2 separate regions of the Homo sapiens genome follow, and region 1 is linked to region 2. Evidence: promoter capture Hi-C in 16 types of primary human blood cells and fetal thymus (Javierre and others, 2016). All regions are on one chromosome and are shown on one strand. The core of a region is centred on a gene start or on the middle of the fragment in contact, and the rest is flanking DNA. Distances in the headings are between cores, read along the strand shown.

Region 1 (3,452 bases), core at 724-3,223, 320 kb before region 2:
GCTGACCCCAGCCAGCCTCTCTCCTCCTCTTTCCCGGGTAAGAACAGACATGGCCCAGGGTTTTCACATTGGCTGGGACAGTCCATGAAGTTCTAAGGGGTCCTGAGGCCCGACCTCCTGCAGCTGGGATCCTCTGTCGGCTCCCCTTCCCAGGCCCAGGGGAATCTTTCTTACACATTTGCCTCCTCTGGTTTCTCCCTGATGACGCAGGGATTCAGCCATGCTCTTCACTTAATGATTCATGTCTTTTCCTTCAGGGGCCCAGACTAACTTTTTCCTCTTTACAGCTTTGCAAAAACAAAGGTCCCATCCCCACCACCTTATCACTTACACCATAAGGGGTTTGTGACTTTTAACTAAAAGAACCTTTATTACAGCAGAAATGCCATGTGCCAGAGAAGATACCCACCCAGCCCCCAGTGGCTTTGGGAACCTGCAAAACACAGTAAAGGTTGAGAACAACTGAATTTCCAGCATCTTTCCTCATCCTGGGAATTCCTAGGAATCCTCCACTGACCGAGTCAGCACAGAAATGAAATGGAAACTGGAGGCTTAGCCAATCAGATGCTTCCACCCAGCTCTTTGAGCCTGTAGTGAGTGATACAAGAAGCCAAGGACAGTGAACTATTCATCCTGGCAGTGGTGGCAGCAGCAGCATCCTGGGGCCTGGCTACATGGTGGTGATGGCCACAGTGTCCCCCAGATGTTCCAGCAGCATGGTTTTCATCGTGGTCTTGGCTATCCAGCTGCTACCTTTGGTGCCTGCGTGATTTCTGGGTCCAGTCTTCAAGATATTCTGTGAGCTAATCAATACCCTTCCATTAGGTTTTTTGTTTTTTTGTGTTTTTTTTTGCCATAATCAGAGCCTGTTTCTTCTGCTTGCAACTGCGAATGGACTAATACAGAGTCTTTGAAGGGTATGGGCAGGGAGAAATGATGGGACCTGGCTTGTACTTTGAAGAAGTCCTATAGGCTGCTATGTGGCCACGATAGTAGAGCACAGCTACAGCAAATGTGAGTAGACCAGGTAGACAAGTTCCTTGGACTGGGGTGGTGGCAATAGGAAAAGTTGAATGGCGTTTTGGGGGGTGAAAATCAAATTGGCTTGGTGAGGTAACGGATGTCGGAGAAGTGGGAGGAAGGACTCAGGATGTCACCCAGGTTTCTGTCTTTCACAAGTGGGTGTTGCGTTAGATTGATTGCAAAAATGGCCGCAATTCTCCACCCCTCCCTTTGCAATATGATTTAGTAACATCTCTCATCAAGAAGCAGAACTTTGCCAGGTGCTGTGGCTCACATCTGTAGTCCCAGCTACTCGGGAGGCTGAGCTGCGAGGACTGCTTGAGCCCAGGAGTTCGAGGCTGTAGTGAGCTATGATTACGCCACCGCACTCCAGTCTGGGTGACAGAGCAAGACCCTGTCTCTAAAGCAAACAAACAAAAGAATCAGAACTTTTTCCCAAACTCTTTCAAGTGAGGCTTGGCTTTGAGAGTTGTTTGACCAAAAGAGTTTGGCAGAAGTGACAGTCTGTCAGTTCCAAGTAAAGACCTTATAAGATCTTGCATGTTTTCATTTGTTTTCCTGAAACCCTGCAATCACTATGTGACTAAGCCTAGACTAGCCTGCTGCATGGCCACGCTATACCAGCCAGCTTCCAGCCAACCCAGCATCTGATTGCAAAAGCCTAGAGAAATAATAAATGGTTAATGCATTAAGCCAGTAAGTTCTGGGGTGGTTTGTTATCCAGCAAGGGCAAACTGATATATATATATATATATATATATACACACACACACACACACACACACATATATATACACATATATATACACACATATATATACATATATATACACACATATATATACATATATATACACATATATATACACATATATATACATATATACACATATATACATATATACACACATATATACATATATACACACACATATATATACACATATATATACATATATATACACATATATATACACATATATATACACATATATATATACACACACACACACAAACACACACCTCCCTATATATATAAAACCATCAGATATATATATGTGTGTGTATATATGTATATGTATGTATGTATATAACATATGTCAGGTATAACATATCAGGTATGTGTGTGTATATATATATACACATATATATATATACACACACAGACACACACCATGGTGTGTGTGTATATATGTATATACATATATATATATGTCCATCCACATCCCAACCAAGCCCACCACCCTCTAGACTTTCAAGGGCTCCTGACTACCTGGACTTTCCACTGTTCTCCTTGGCCCATGAAATTGGATGTCCCTGTCCCAAGGCTGTCTGCAGTACACTCGAACTTGCTCTGCCCTTGAACTTGCTCTTGGGCATATCAGCTGCCCCTTAGGCCAGACCCTGGGCTTTCTGTATCTCAGAAATCTGCTTTTATCCCTGGACCCCACATTAGTCCCTGTTCCTGGCCTTTGGGATTTGCCGTGGTTGTGGTTGGGCCCTCCAACTGGGTGAGGGCCCAACTGCTCACTCCCAGGAGACCAGTACCCACATCCCAGCACAGAGCAGGTGAGAGCTCCCACACTCCTTTTTACCCACTCTCACGGCCTTACTGTGTGCCCTTCTGTAGCTTCTGTGACCCATTGATCTTCCTACAACCTCCCTGGCAGGATCTCTTTGCTCCTCTCCATCCCATATTCAATACCGGGTCCCTGTGGAGCGCCAGGCTCTATACTAAGGACCCTGTGTGGGTCCCCCAAGGGCAGAAACCATCTTTCCCCATCAACTCAAAGTCTCCTAGGCATAAAGGCTGGGGGTGGAGGGCTGAGGACTGACCCAGGACCTCTATTTTGCCTCCTGTAAATAAAGATATCTCAAAATACAGTAAGAAGACCAACTAAGTGGGTGAAACTCCACCAACTGACAGATAATTGTCACATCTTAACTATACATCTTTCCTCGGCAGGCAAGACACATCTAGGCCTGGTGAAGACAGAAACGCTAGTCCCCCCCCTTATTTGCAGGGGATACATTCAAGACCCCCAGTGGATGCCTGAAACCGCAGATAGTACCAAACCCTATACATACTATGGATTTTTCTATATGTACATATCCACCATAAAGTATAATGCATAAATTAAGCACAGTTAAGAGGTTAACAATAATAACTGATAATAAAATAGAACAATTATAACAACTGTTCTATTTTATTCTCAGTTATTATTGTTAATAATAATTATGTTGTGATGATGTTAAGCATCACCACTTTTGCATCCAGGGGTCGTTATTAAATGAAGTAAGGGTTACCTGAACATAAGCACTGCGATACCTCAGCAGTTGATCTGACAGCCAAGACAGCTACCAAGTGACTAATGAGCGGGAAGAATATGCAGCATGGACGTGCTGGACAGAGGGATGATTCACTCTAC
Region 2 (3,134 bases), core at 358-2,857:
CACAAATGTCTGCACAGACCCAGAAGGTAACTAACCGTGAGAAACAGGGATTAGCGGGGACTATGGTAAATTTATGTGCTCTTAAAGGGGCTTGTAATGCCAGGCTGGAAAGTGAGCCCATGTTGTCAGATCTTCTGATATTTCAAAAGCCACGAAACCAGATTCCTGATTCCAGAAAGAGGCGGAGGAGGCAGGAGGGGGAAGGACTTCTTTTAAAAAGCCCCATGTGAGCTAAACAAAATACACCTACGGGCCACTTTGGGCCCACCGTCTGCCAACTTTAGACTTTCAAGACAAGGTCTAAAGGTAGTGTGGTGGGAGTGGGTAGAGTGGGCAGGAGTGGATGGGCTGAGATCAGAATGTGAAAAGCTCTCAATGTAAGCGCTGTCTCTCAAACGCGAGGGCACATGAGTCACCCAAAGTGCTGCTGAAGTTTGTGAAGCGCTACTGGAGGCAGTCCCAGAGGGCTTTGGAGCAGGAGAGGGACGCGATGAAAACAAGAGCTCAGAAAGATTAATTTGCCAACAGTGTGCAGACTGGAGATCAGCAGACAGGTTATGGGCCACAGGGTGGCAGACTTGAGGGCTCCTTTAAGGCAGCGACCCCGGCCCTGCTGAAGGGAGGCTGGCCTTCGGCCGCCCAGGCCGTCTCTCTAGTTCCGTTGGAAGCAAGGCGCTGCGTGCTCCGGACGGCTTACTGAGGGCACTTTGGGGAATCCGTCCCCACGGGCGAAGTATAGGTGGGGTGTTCGCGAACCGGCGGGCGGAGAGCACCGGCAAGAACCCCCGCAGACCGGAGGGCCACGCCTCTCGCTCCTCGGCTCATTGCAGGCGCCCACATCCCACCCCGCGGTGCTGAGCGAGGCGCATCTCGCTGCCATGGCGACCGCCTCCATGGAGACCGGGAGCAGAGGCTGCGGTCCCCGGGGGCGCGTCACAGGCTCTCCCAGCCCCCAGCCCGCGTGCCTTCTTTGTTCTGATGCTTCTCCAGGCCGGGCCAGGCACCCGGGACGCGTCTCGGGCCCGCACGGGGGTTGCTTCTTTCGAGACAGGGGATGGGGTGGAAGGGGAAGAGGTCCAAACCCTGGGGTCGAAACAGGAGTGATGGAGGGTTCCTCAGCTCCTGAACGAGACCAACACGGCCCGTATCGATGGCCGAAGCCGGCGTGGAAGCCCAGGGAGAAAGGCCACCTTCGGGAGCTCCACCCAGCCCCGAGACGCGCCCGACAGCCCTCCCGAGAGCGAAGGGCCCAAGGGAGGTGCGTCCTAAGCAAGGTTCAAGGCTAGAGGCGCTATCCCCCAGGCGGAAGAAGGAGCGGGGGCGGGGCCTATCCGAGGCCCTCCTTCTCCCTCTTCGAGTGGTCGGTTCTGGCCCCTGGCCTAGTTGGGCCGCCTGCCCGTCTTCCTCGCGAGAGCTCGCCCGGCAGGCGCGGACTAGCAGGGCGCTGCCTCGGCGACCCTGGCACGTGACGTAGGCGGCCCTCGCCAGTTGGCCGTTCTTTGGAGCCCGCTCATTGGTCCGGAGCGTCCCTCGCCCCACCCTCCCAGATCAACCAATGGGCGGAGGCGGGGGCGTGCCGACGGGAGGGCGGCCGCGGCGCGGGGCTCCCTTCCTCGTGCTCGGCGTTGAGCTCCTGCAGCCGCCGCCGCTGCAGTGGTCGTCCCTGCCCTCCCCGGCCCCGGGGTGCACCCCGCAAGGTGAGGCCACCCCTCTGCTCCCTGCCTCCCGGTTCCTTCCCGTTCGCCGAGGTCCCCTCCCGGTCCCGGCCCTGTCCTGAGCAGTCAGTGCCTGGGACCCCAGCGGCCGTGATGGCAGGGCTGGGGTGGGGGGCTCCGCTGTCGGGGCCGGGCCTGGAGGACTCCCCAGCACCTGAACTAGAGTGATGTCAGGTTCCCGGGGCGCAGTGACCGTTAGCTGGTGCAGCTGGGGTGTTTTCCGCGAAGCGATTGTCCGGGGGCATGAGTGCGGTAGTGAGGGCGGGGGCGTAATGGGGTCAGCGCCCCCTCCTCCCCACGACCCTGTTCATTGCCGCTGCCTCGCTGCATGACCTTGGACCAGTAGCATCTCTGAGCCTCCGAGCCTCAGCACCCTCAGGAAGGAGGGCAGTGATGTCTGGGAGTGCGGGCTCCGGAGACTCCTGCGTCAGCCGAGGTGAGTGAAGGTGGGGAGTGCACAGGATTATCTCCGAGGGACAGAGCCGCCGCCTCGCAGCTCAGGATGGATTGGATGGGGGGGATGTCCGATTACATTTCCCCCCTCCCCCTGAGATGACAAGAATGGGGTGTGGCGGGGGTGCCACACCCACAGGGATGGCTGCCGGAGAGGATAAAGGGTCCTACACCTGGACCCTTGGGGCCTCGGGGGCTTGGGCTGCACCTCCCTCCCGGTGGTATGAAGGAGGAGGGACTGGATTTAGGTTCTGGACCCGTGTTTCCATTAGTAAGCAGGGACTGAGAAAGGGAAGTCTCCGCTTGCCTTTCTTCTTGAATCTTGGCACTGGAAAGTGGAGGTAGGGCATTTTTCTGCTCCGGGGAGTTGAAGAAAGTCGGGGCAGCACCCCATCCCTCTCCCATTCTGGTCTTTTGTGGAGGGAAAATGTAGCTGGATATCCCCCCACATTCTATCCATCCTGAGCTACGAGGCAGCAGCCCTGTCCCTGGGAGATAATCCTGTGTGCTCCCACCCTCACCTTGGCTGACCCCCTGGATCCAGCCTGGCCTCTGCTTCTTGGGACCTCTGGATCACAGGCCCAGGGCAGGGCCTAGGTGGGGCATGCTATCTGGAGGCTAAGCACCCACTAGCTGAGGGCAAAGTGGGGAGAATGCTGGGCAGAGGAGGGCAGCACTTGTTGGGGAGGCAGGAAGGTGTGGGTGGTGAGGGTCCCTTCTCCATATTCCCCCACCCCCACCCCCAGCACCTCACTGTTAGAAGGAGAGAGAACAGCCATACTTATCTTTGCACCTTTGGCCCACTGGAGGGAGAAGGAAATTAAATCACATTAAAGCTGAGTTGATGTGAAGCTGCCACAACTACTGACCTCCAGCCTTGCCTTTCCAGGCTTTGTTCTGAGTATGTGTGGCCTCTGCTGTGTCCAGTCCTGAGAGTCAGCGGGTCAGTGTGGCCCCATCTCAAGG

Evidence for each region. The method cuts DNA at HindIII sites, captures the fragments that hold promoters and counts their contacts. A CHiCAGO score of 5 or more calls a contact.
Region 1: a contact is called between a fragment that was not itself captured here and the fragment with the promoter of ADISSP in region 2, in 2 of 17 cell types (total CD8 T cells and total CD4 T cells). The highest score is 5.5, in total CD8 T cells.

The regions. Positions count from the first base shown.
Region 1 is chr20:4,088,095-4,091,546 of GRCh38, reverse strand. No RefSeq gene overlaps it. Among named protein-coding and RNA genes, the nearest start is that of SMOX, 59 kb to the left of the region's middle. The HindIII fragment of the contact is 6,501 bases long and covers 1-3,452 here.
Region 2 is chr20:3,766,226-3,769,359 of GRCh38, reverse strand. ADISSP (adipose secreted signaling protein) reads left to right here and starts at 1,607. Exons shown (of 6, transcript NM_001258429.2): 1 at 1,607-1,697. RefSeq lists enhancers at 273-322, 984-1,570, 1,698-2,462 and a silencer at 1,473-1,712. The HindIII fragment of the contact is 5,584 bases long and covers 1-3,134 here.